3 separate regions of the Homo sapiens genome follow, and regions 1 and 2 are each linked to region 3. The links are contacts of gene promoters, found by promoter capture Hi-C in blood cells and fetal thymus (Javierre and others, 2016). All regions are on one chromosome and are shown on one strand. The core of a region is centred on a gene start or on the middle of the fragment in contact, and the rest is flanking DNA. Distances in the headings are between cores, read along the strand shown.

What was found. Contacts are between HindIII fragments. The CHiCAGO score rates a contact against its expected background, and 5 or more counts as called.
Region 1: a contact is called between a fragment that was not itself captured here and the fragment with the promoter of PTDSS1 in region 3, in 2 of 17 cell types (activated CD4 T cells and fetal thymus). The highest score is 7.4, in activated CD4 T cells.
Region 2: a fragment that was not itself captured here is called in contact with the fragment with the promoter of PTDSS1 in region 3 in 1 of 17 cell types (activated CD4 T cells); the score reaches 6.3 in activated CD4 T cells.

Annotation. Positions count from the first base shown.
Region 1 is chr8:93,918,486-93,922,437 of GRCh38, reverse strand. PDP1 (pyruvate dehydrogenase phosphatase catalytic subunit 1) reads right to left here. Exons shown (of 2, transcript NM_018444.4): 2 at 1-422. The coding sequence starts at 378. Among named protein-coding and RNA genes, the nearest start is that of PDP1, 3.5 kb to the right of the region's middle. The HindIII fragment of the contact is 2,309 bases long and covers 1,395-3,703 here.
Region 2 is chr8:93,769,715-93,773,429 of GRCh38, reverse strand. It overlaps TMEM67 (transmembrane protein 67), which reads right to left. Exons shown (of 28, transcript NM_153704.6): 7 at 779-841. Among named protein-coding and RNA genes, the nearest start is that of TMEM67, 17 kb to the right of the region's middle. The HindIII fragment of the contact is 731 bases long and covers 1,431-2,161 here.
Region 3 is chr8:96,259,396-96,263,340 of GRCh38, reverse strand. PTDSS1 (phosphatidylserine synthase 1) reads right to left here and starts at 1,439. Exons shown (of 13, transcript NM_014754.3): 1 at 1,122-1,439. The coding sequence starts at 1,300. It overlaps MTERF3 (mitochondrial transcription termination factor 3), which reads left to right and starts at 1,731. Exons shown (of 8, transcript NM_015942.5): 1 at 1,731-1,840. RefSeq lists enhancers at 514-753, 899-1,591, 2,074-2,133, 2,285-2,978 and silencers at 904-1,083, 1,134-1,503, 1,684-1,833, 1,586-1,910. The HindIII fragment of the contact is 8,922 bases long and covers 1-3,945 here.

The DNA of each region.
Region 1 (3,952 bases), core at 1,300-3,799, 2.3 Mb after region 3:
CCGGTCCTCAATGGGTGCATTTGCAGGCAGCTGATTGCTGTCAAATCCAAGGATAGAACTGACATTTTTGCCGTCAAATTCTGGCACTTTGAAACTGTATTCATTAGCTTTAAGGATGCTATTGACTTGTGGAGGTGTGAGGTAAAATTTCTGTGGTGTGGAAGCATATCTCCTTCCTTGGGTGTACTGCCACCAGTTCTCCTTTGGCCTGCAAAAGGTAGCATATGCTGGATGAGGTGTGTATCTCAGTCGACTCTGAGGAATGTACGATGAGGAACAACAGAGATGTTTGTGGTGGCAGTAACATGCAGTGCCATAGATCCTGCTCAGTTCACAGTTACGGATGAGAGGAAAAAACAGTTGAGTTGGTGCTGGCATGGCATCAGAGAACAGTGGCAGGCTGGAACTTCTGACTGGGATTCCTAGACAGCAAATTAGACAGATGTACACAAAGGAAAGAGTTACATTTCAGGATACTTAATCTAGCTTTGCCTTTATAACAAATATTAAGCAAGTCAATCTACATGTTAAGCCTTTGCTAGAAGGTACTACATTTTATACACACATCATGTACTATTTCTACAGGGTATATTCTGGCAGGCACAACTCCCAATCATTCGTGGAACCACGACTGAACTCCTGGCTCCTATACTCAAACTTCAATTTTCTCTTTTCTTTGTCGTCCTTTGTGCAGTACAAACTGTGCAGAATGTACAACAGATTTGGCTGGGGAAAGCTGAGGAGATGAAGGTTATATAACATTATGCAGTAGCCGTCTACCTGACCAATCATCCTTCTCCCTCCCTATTCTTAAAAAATGCCTTGAAATCTCCCATTTTACACAGGGACTTCTTCCATTTATGAAGACCCTTTACATAGACCTGTGGTCAATTTTTGGCATGATTACACATGGCTATGACCAAAAATGTTAAGAGGCAGCCAAACATATGTGTATTTATGAATTACGTGTACATCATATACATATATGACTACAGTAATATGCATTGTAACATATATAGAAAAATTTCTACATAATTAAATAAAAAAAGAAATTCCAGTATTTCTCTCCTGTACCCCAGTAGATGGTCTTGCAAAACTTGCTTCTCTAGTCCACTGTGGCAATTTGCCAGGCTAACGGGCATAGGTCTGCCACCAACTCCCAAATAATCTTGGAAAAGTCAGCTCACATCTTTGAGTCTCACTCTTCTAACCTGTAAAGGAACATCAACAGAGCAGATGCTATCTAAGGCTCTTCTAGGATTCATGCCTTTATGCTTATGGAAGTGAGGTTTTTAAATAAAATTCAGGTTTCATTTATTCACTGTTGAATTCTACCGTGCCCTTCATGATTAAAAAAAAAAAAAAAGTTTAAGTATTGCAGTAGCTCTAAAGCTTTGTTAGTAACATAAATGGTTTCAGTCCTAGAACTTAATTTACCTACTAACAATGTTCCCTGCTTAGCAGCTATAAGGAAAACCCATAGAAGTATTTTCATCTACTATGGATCCAAAGTAGAATTAACCCCTAGAAAAATGTTTTCTTGGATATGGTAATCACTCTGATTTGATCATTACACAATGTCTACCAATATATACATGCACTGAAACATCACATTGTACCCCATAAATATATAATATTATGTGTCAATTGTAAATTAAAAATAAATTTTAAAAGACCAAAAATGTTTTCTCTCACATTAAAAAAAAAAAAAAAAGGTATTTACTTGCTCCAGGGAAGCAGTATAGTCAAATAATAGTCTAAGGTTTGGATTGAAAAGGTACAGCAATATAATTACAAACTTAAAAAAAATCCTATCACTCACTATGTGCGCTGAAAATAATTTCTGGGCATTTATTTGGGAAATTTAATGAATATATCATTAATCTAGATAATTTGGGCAAGAAAAAAAATCCCTCTTCTTCCTCAATAACATATATTTTCCCTGAATTCTTGAGATACTGCTTCAAAATAGTCATTTGTACTATAAAGAAACACTTTGGAAATACTTTAAATAAACAAATGCAATAAACAAAAAGGAACACAGAAAATAAAACCATCTGAGTTAATAGCAACTATTCCTTCCCACGGCTAAACAAATATCATAGCATGTGTCAGCCATATATTATTTTCATGTACCTTTTTTGAAGAATAATTTGAGAAAAAGTAATAAATTGGGGTAGAGGGAAGCAAAGAAAACTAAACACTGAATAATCACTGATTCTTGTTTGTTTCTGTAATAAGCACTGCATAAGCCAGCCACACAGATTCTCTTCTGCAAGTAGTAGAAAGTACCATCATTTTAACTGCACTATCTAAGAAGGGATTTGTTTACGAAAATGAAGACAAGATCAGGCAATAGAAAGTAATGGCTAAAATTTTGGAAATAAGAATCCGTAACTAAAAAAGCATTCTGAAATGCACTAATGAAAAACAGAAATTCCAGAAAAACGGGAATCCATCAGGAGTAACCATTTAAATAAAAGAAATTCAAACTGAATACCTGAAAGTCATCCAGAGGTTAAGTGTACATGACTGAGCCAGAAGATGTGCTCAAATGTTGGGCCACATGACAGTGGCTTCCATACTTAAACCATATCTCTTTTTAGGTTTGCGTGCAGAAAGCATATCAACTCATTTTGTGCTTTGAATAAAGGTTTTCTATCATTAAAAATGTAAACTAATGTAATCTTAATGAATTTTTCTTCATAATTTTATGACTGCATTTGCTCTTTCTTTAAAACTTAAGAATCTTACAGAAAAAAACAATGAAAATGTGCCTGTATGGAACGTAAACTGACTCAAAATACTATTTGTGTGGGGGGGAGGGAGGGTTGATAGATGCATAACAGGGTTTGATTGTTTAATTAAGGAATAACAAGTCCTGGAAACCTGCACTTTCCTTAAATTCCTTTGCTTCGACATTTTTTTGCCGGGGGGGGGGAGGGAGGGCAGCGGGGGGAGGAATTTTGCTCTTGTTGCCCAGGCTGAAGTGCAATGGCGTGATCTCAGCTCATCGCAACCTCCGCCTCCCTGGTTCAAGCGATTCTCCTGCCCGGCTAATTCTGTATTTTCAGTAGAGATGGGGTTTCACCATGTTGGTCAGGTTGGTCTCGAACTCCTGACCTCAGGCCATCCACCCGCCTCAGCCTCCCAAAGTGCTGGGATTACAGGCATGAGCCACTGCACCCGGCTTGGTATGACATCTTTTCTACTTTTGTAATTGACTGCAAAATGAATGAAATCTAGTGACAAAAAGCAATGATTGACACAGCAGGTGCTTTTAACAATACTTACGTTCAAACATCAAATTCTCCACTACATTTTTCCTTCAAGGCAAAAATTCTTGAGATTAAAAACAAAAAATGAGAGAGTGAATTTTATTGACTCTATCTTTCAGTTATGCAGAGGCTTAGTACATGGACTGAGATTATATCCTAATGCCCCAACTTCCAACATGCCTTCAAAAGACAAAATTCCTAGGGAAGTTGGAATTTATGAAAACTGTGCTGTAATTAATGAGCGTTCTATCCGCATCGGTACAAGTGATACATTCTCTCCATCAGATCAGATACCCTTGGGAGTCAAAGTACTTTCAAATGCTTTCATAAATAAGTAAGCAATGAAAAACTCTTAATATCCTTCAGATTATCCACTGATTCAACAACAAGAAAACACTCTACATCATAACTTTTGCTGACAAGCTTGTTAAATTAGTGTAGAAGGCTCTTGATCAGGCAATAAGAACAGCATCCAGGTACAACTGTTGGTAAAACAGAGCAGTGTCAAATTTGCAAGTTATTCTTGATCACAATTTTCACGGAAAATTTCCTATTCCATGATCTAGACTCAGCCACGTTGTATGTAGCATCTTCATCCCAGGCAGATTGGGCTGATTTTGCCAATGACTAATAAAGAAAGATGCACTGCAACCAGAAACAGGAAAGAGAGCCGT
Region 2 (3,715 bases), core at 547-3,046, 2.5 Mb after region 3:
ATGCTACAATGATCCTTTCAAGAACTGAAGTTCTATCATGTCTTCCTTTGCATGAAATCCTCCTATCTCCCTTAAAATAAGCTCCAGGGCCTTGCCATAGCCACTCCCTACATCCCTGACCTCATCTCCACTCCACTTTCCCTGCTCACTCTGCTCCAGCCACTCCAGCCTCCTCCTTCTCTCTTAAGCATGAATAAGCCAGTAAACTGCTTTGAGATCTTTGCTCCTGCTATGGTTTCTGCTTAGAACACTCTTCTCCTTGATGTTTACATGGCTCACTCTCACTTTTTTCAGTTCTTTGCTCAACTATAACCCTCTCAGAGATGTCTGTCCTGATCACTATATAAAATAGCACCCCCCACCCCATCTATGTACTTTACTCTTAACTATTTGCCTTCATAGCACTTAGCACAACCTGACATTTACTTAGGCTGTAACTCCATGAAGGACTGTTTTTTTCTTTTTCTGAAATATCTAACCTGATTTAAGAATTGGGCCCGGCACACAGTAGGTCATCAATAAACATTTACTAAGTGACAGTCAGTTTCCCCTAACACTCCGTTTCAGCTAAAAAAGCTTGGAGACATTCAATTTGTGTATACTAAATAACATCTTCTTCATGTATTCTCTTTCAGCCCACAAGAAAGAGTTTATTCTTCTTATAAGATTATGACCAAGAAGCTATAGCTACTTAGAAATAAAACTTTTATTATCTGGGTAAATAAATGGTATAATTCTTCAAAATAAAATGAAATTTATTTAAAAAATTCAAACTTACCCAACATGCAGCTGCTGATGATTGCAAATACTTTGCAAACCATTCTGAAGTTAAAGACATGCCCTGTAAACAAAAAGATACATTTTATTTTTAAGTTCAAATGACTCCAATATGCATATTGTTGAATGGGAAATGTCTCACATTACTTTCACAATGTTAGTAGAAAAACAGTTACTAATAGGAATACAAGAATTGATTTTAACCAATGTCAGTTATTATAAATAGGACCGCATTACAAAATAATCACACTTAGGCAAAAGATATAACGAGACAAAATGTGTCTGTAATCAAAAAATACTACATGCCTATTTCACTAACATAAAAAATAAAGTGGCAAACAAAAGAAAAAATAACAGATCCTGACTTAGTATTGAGTGGTTAATATTTACTGGTTTATAATTATTATAAATACTGTACCAAATTGGCAAGCAATAAAAAAAATTGGGGGGAAATAATTTCAAATCTCCAAAGTGGTGGTTCTCAAACAATGGTGGACATCACAATCACCTGCAGAACTTTCTAAAAACAAAAAATGCCTGGCTTCATCCCAAACAAAAACGAATCAGTATCTCCAGATGAGACCAAGGCAATTACATCGGTTTTGAAGGCTACAGATAACAAACCTCTGGCTAAAAAACATTACTTTAAAGCTTATCTGTACATCTTGCTAAAATATGAGAAACTAAGAAGCACCATTCAGAGAAAATCGTCTGGGCACACACGTAAGTGATATAACTAAATTATATGAACATGGCACCACAGTGATCAGAGAAATCTATAATAAAACTATGAGGTACTATTTGTGTATATTTAATAAGCAAAAATTATTTTGTAAGAAAAAATATGCATAGAAGGCTGAGGAACACATGCACACAAACTGGTAAAAAATGAAATGCAACACAACAGTACTGACAAATGCATGTAAAATGGAGCCACATACAATGCCACTGATAGTGTGAAAGTTACATGATACTTTTATAAAGCAATATCCATATACTCTAACCCAGAAATTTAGGAACACTTAGGAAATTTATCTTAAAGCAATAATCCCTCTAAATGGGAAAACATATTTATGGTTGACAGCAATATAGTTAATAACTGAAAACCTAAATATTCTCTGGAGATACCATTATACAAATTTTAGTGCATAAGCCAGAATATTATGGAACTATTAAAAATATAATTATACAAGGTGAGTCTGGAACATGGTATAGAGAAACCAAAGAAATCCCTAAAGTCTAAAGTCACGTCAAAACAACACAGGAGCTATGCTGAAAGGAAGTTCAAATTTGGTACAACTTGAACTTCGAAAAGAAGAATAAAAAAAGTTAACAGATTATAACACAATGAGTAAACAAAGATTCTACAGTTCATAATAAAGCTTTTTTTTAAAAAAAAAAAAGCACAGAGAAAAAGTAAAGTGCTTCTACAGAAAATTGCTAGCTAATAAATCTAGAGGGAATAATAGAATTGTTATTAGAAGTGACCAGTTTAGTAACTGATACAGGCAAGATTCATTAATTGCTAAAATGGATATTTACATAGTCTCAGACTAACGTATTAATCACAGTACCTTTACAATGGAGAGAAGTGGCAGACACAACTATGACCAAGAAATCAATATTTTTTTTTTTTTTTGAGACGGAATTTCGCTTGTTGCCCAGGATGGAGTGCAATGGCGCGATCTTGGCTCACTGCAACCTCTGTCTCCTGGGTTCAAGCGATTCTCCTGCCTCAGCCTCCTGAGTAGCTGGGGTTACAGGAGCCTGCCGCCACGCCCAGCTAATTTTTGTATTTTCAGTAGAGATGGGGTTTCACCATGTTGGCCAGGCTGGTCTTGAACTTCTGACCTCAGGTGATCTACATGCCTCAGCCTCCCAAAGTGCTGGGATTAAAGGAGTGAGCCACCGCGTCCAGCCTAGCAATCAAATTTACTATCACCAATAACTGGACAACCTGACAGACATTACATACCTCTTGTTGTGATGCAATGAGCTGTATACAACATCTATATAATATCTTGCGAAAATATGTTTCACTGAGTCTAATCATGAGAAAACAATCAGAAAAATACAGAGGGGAAAAACCACAAAAGCAAAGTGAAGCAGGGATATGTTCTAGATTAAAGGACACTAGAAAGACTAACTGCAGTGTGAGATCCTTGATTGGATCCTAGGTATCCCTTCCCCCAAAAAAGGAAGGGAGAATAAAGAACATTTTTGAACAACTGGGAAAATTTGGGTATGAATGGATATCAGTTAATTCTATTATGTTAATTTTAAATTCCTTGGGTGTGATTCTAGGAAAATGCCTTATTCTTTGGAGATCCACCCTAAAGTATTTGGAGTGCAATGTCATTATGTCTACAACTTATTTTCAAATGGCTCAGGGGGAAAAAAACATTGTGTTTGCGTATATATTTACATATATACAGAGAGATAAAGCAAATGTGGCAAAACATTAATAATTCTTTAAACCAGGTGAAAGACATAGGCATAGTCATTGTCTAATTCTTTCAGCTTTTCTGCAATTTTGAAATTTTTCAAAATAAAAGTTGGGAAAACCAAAAACCATGAAGCTATTTCACTATTAATGTATTTGAGGGAAAGGGAATGGGGAGACACTAACTCATGTATGTGAAAATTTTTTTCTGATTGGCAAGTATATTCCAAGAGTAGGATGAGTAGGATTGGATGCCTTGTTATAAAATTATACAAACAAAATTATGTACCAATTTTGTTCTCTAAGAAAACTTCCAACCTTAACGTTCAAAGTAGACTTTTCCAATTAGGAAGAATGTATGTTATGGAGTCAATACAAATATTTCAGTCTAATTGGCAATTACAGTCTCAACATAAACTAATAAACATGTATTCTGGTTTATCAATTAATCTAATCTCGTCTAAGTTTAATTACTTTAAACAAGCCCTTAGAATC
Region 3 (3,945 bases), core at 190-2,689:
CCTTTCTTTAAAGAGGTTCATTCAGAAAGTATAAATCATTCTAAGTAGGAACCACGGTGTGTACCTCCTTATGAACCAAGGATGAATTAGTTCTCTAGGTTAGGAATGAGGAGCCACAGGCGCAGTGCCAGAGTTAACATGAGGTGTGTTCAAGATTTGGGCTGGGCAGCTCCTATGAACCGGTATATATTAGAATGTGTGTGTATGTTTTCCAGGGAATAAGAGAGTTGTGTTATGCTGTGTGAGGTTTATGTGTTTCATTTAACACACAGCAGTTACTATACCCCAGGCACCATTAAAATTGCTGGACAAGATCACATTTCAGCACGTATGTTAGGTAATGAGTGAGCAGGGTATGCACCGCGTGATGTGTGGCGGGCTGGTGTCTGTGCAGCCATGTACACAGATGATGGGTATTGGGCTGTGCTGGAAAGGAAAGGTCCGCTGTGAGGTGTGTGTTTAGAGTGGCAGTTTGTGCCGTGGTACAGATGGTAGTGTTTGAGGCTGGGGGAAGTGTTATGCTGGATGACTTGTGTGCAATGCATACGGGAAGTGCTGCACAGGAAAGACCGTGTATGCAGCACACATGTGCATTTTTTGTGCGTTACGGATAGTGCCGAATACCGGAGTTCCACAGGAAGGGATCTAGGTTGTGTCCTGGGCCTGTGTATGGTGCCTGCAGGCGCTGTGGATTGGGGTGCTTTGTATGTGTAGCGGTGTGTGCTGAAAGTGGTGCATACGACATGATTCATGCGGTGTGCTGGGTAGGGACGAAGGCTGGAGCAGTGCAGAGGAGGGGCCCGCGTCGTGATGTTGTGTGGAGCGATGCTGAGTGCGGTGGGTGAGGGGGCGATCGTGCTAGGTGACTCGCGTGCGTTCCCCGTGTAACCGGAGGCGCTGTATGGAGAAGGGGCACTGAGGGGTAGGGGAGCAGGCTAGCGTACTGTGAGACACCGGGCGGGCGGAGGGGCCGCGTGGGCGGCGGGCTGCCAGTGCGTGTGCGTGGAGCAGCCAGCCCACTTCCTCACCCAGAGCCATGCCGGGCCCCCCTCCCCGCCACCCTCCCTCCCGCCTCTTCCCTAGCCCTTGGACGCGCCCCCCGCTCGGCTGGGCCGCCCCACCTGGTAAAGGCGAAGTACATGAGGCTGACGATGGTGAAGCTGAGCAGGGTGATGGTATGCGGCCGGTAGAAGAAGTCAATGGTGATGTCCTCCACTTGCTGCTCGTTGATCATCCGGAAATGCATTTTGTAGTTCACATCATCCTTGCTTAGGGTCCGGCTCCCCACGCAGGACGCCATGGCCCGCCTCCCCGTCCTGCCGCGGTGGCGGCGGCCCCAGCCCGAGAAGGCCGGGACCCCGGGGGTGACTAGCCACAGTAGGCTAATAGCCGGACGGCAAAGCCGGGTCTGGCGCCCAGCAAAGGCTGGGAGCAGAGGGAAGGACAGGCGCGAGAGGGCGGGGTCGCGGCGCCGCCACCGCGGCCTGGGGCAGGGGACGCCGCCGGCCGTCCCCACGCTGTCATCCTAGCTGAGGCATCTCTACCACTCGAGGAATTTTCAGACTCCAAGTCCACAGGACTTCAGAGGAATAGCGAGCCGGAGAAGGGTAGCCGGGGCCCCTGGCTGGCTCTTTTCAGAGCACGTAGCCCGCTGTCTCCCCGCGTAACCCGGCACATGGTCTCGCCCACTCCGGGCGCGGCCCACGTGGGCCCGGGAGCGCGGCTGCGCTGTGTAGGGCGGGCTGAGGAGCCGGCGTGCGGCGCGGCGGGACGGGACGTGCGGCCCAGCGAGTTGGTCGGTCCCGGGGTCACCCGCTACGGGAAGCAGGCCTCGCCACAGGTAAAGCAGGAGCTGCCCCAGCACGAGGATCGCGCTCCTGGCGAGGGTTCAGGTTCCGGCGCACCCGCGTCCAGACCGCGCCCCAGGGCCTCAAGGGCCTTTAGGTTTTCGCGGCCCAGTAGAGGGTGATTGGTTTTGTTTTGTGTTTTTCCCTGGCTGATGTAGTGAAAACTCAACCATGCTGGCTAATTAGCGCAGTGTGAGAAGCCTCAGGAGGGGGCTCTGCCTTCCTGCGCAAGTTTGGGGAACTGAAGTGGGCTAAAATGGCCTGGGAAGTATTGAGAGACCCTTTATTAGGAAGCTGCCCCCATAACCTCCCTTTCTCTCCTGATTTCATTTATAGCATTTCGTAGGTAGAAATCTTGAACTCTATTTCAGTGCCTTTTTCTAGCGAAGCACTAGGCACTCATTGAGAACAGTATATATGAATTGTTAAGAGACTTCAGTTTCTTTAAGGGTTTTCTGTAATTTTCCTGATGAAAGGACCTTGTTAGAAGACTTCAGGTTACCACCTTACAGGGCTTTTATACACATCTGCACATCCCCTACCCGCTTTTGCATACTGTGTAAGCAAGTGAGTTAACTGTACTTGCCATTGATTTATTTCCATTCCGCAAACATTAGAGCAGTACAAGGCTCTGGGAAAGTGGAGAATAGTCCCCGGAAGGATGGATCCAGGGATGAGACCCAGCTCTGCTCTCGTGCATGAACAGTTAATCAATTGTTAAGATGTGTAGGCAGCAATGAAAGGATGTGGAGAAGATAGTGCACTTGTAAATAAAAATGCAAGGATAAACATTAGTTGTATGCACAAAGATCTTTTAATGACGGGGTGAAATTTGAAAGTGAGTCTTCCTGATGTTTAAGTGGTATTGAGTGTGGAAAGGCTTCAGGATGAATTTGGGATTTCAGGAGTTTGAAGTAGGATGAAGTGCTTAGACGTCAAAAAATGTTAGAGCTGATAGGGGCCTTAAGAATCATCTTATTGTACCCCTAGCCTTTTAAAAAAGCATTATTTGAAGAATAGTTATTGACCCCACCCCCACCCCCCACATCATGGGCTAGACTGCTGCTTTTGTTAGACTGCTGCCAGAAACAGCCTTGTCAAGGTAGCACAACCGAGGTCTTCTGACTTTCAATTTAGTGCCCTTATGACTACCGTGCAGAGAATGAATGTTGTAGGTTTGAGGGAAAACTTGGCACATTTGGAGTCCCATTTCCCACCAAAATCTAACAGAAACCACCTATCCCAGCAGGGTATTGTGAATACTTACTTCTTTTCTAAAATCATCGCAGAATGGGCCGAGCGCAGTGGCTCACGCCTGTAATCCCAGCACTTTGGGAAGCTGGGTGGATCACCTGAGGTAAGGAGTTCGAGGCCAGCCTGGCCAAGATGGTGAAACCCCGTCTCTACTAAAAACACAAAAAATTAGCCGGGCATAGTAGCGGGCGTGGGTAATCCCAGCTACTCGGGAGGCTGAGGCAGGAGAATCACTTGAACCTGGGAGGCAGAGGTTGCAGTGAGCCAAGATGGTGCCGTTGTACTCCAGCCTGGGCAACAAGGGCGAAACTCCGTCTCAAAAAAAATAATAATAATAATAATAATAAATAATTGCAGAATGAAAGGAAACTTTCACTTTTGTAAAATCTCTTTCAGCAAACTTCCCAAAACTACAGATCTCCAAGAAAAGATTAGACCCTCAAGTATTTGGTCTAATTTAGAGCATAAAACAAGCTGAATTCCAGTATGCAGAAAAACAAAGTATAAAGTTGTAGGCAGCAATTAATTCAGCAGAATTTTTGTATTTGGTTGTGTAACCAATAATAATGGCTAACATTTATTGAGCATTTCTTATATCCTGACTCCATCCTGTGTTTTATATGGATAATGTTATTTAACGTAAGATTATATGCATCAAATTTACCTTTCTAATTAGCTGGCTAAATATAAAATCCCTTCATATTCCTGGAGTTTAACATAGCACTAGCCTTTCCTGATAAAAATATTTTTGAAAACTACTTTTTCAGTCAAAATATACAGGTATTAATTGCTGGTTGCTTATTTATTTCTGTCACTTGGTTTTGTTACTAGTTTTGACCTTTTC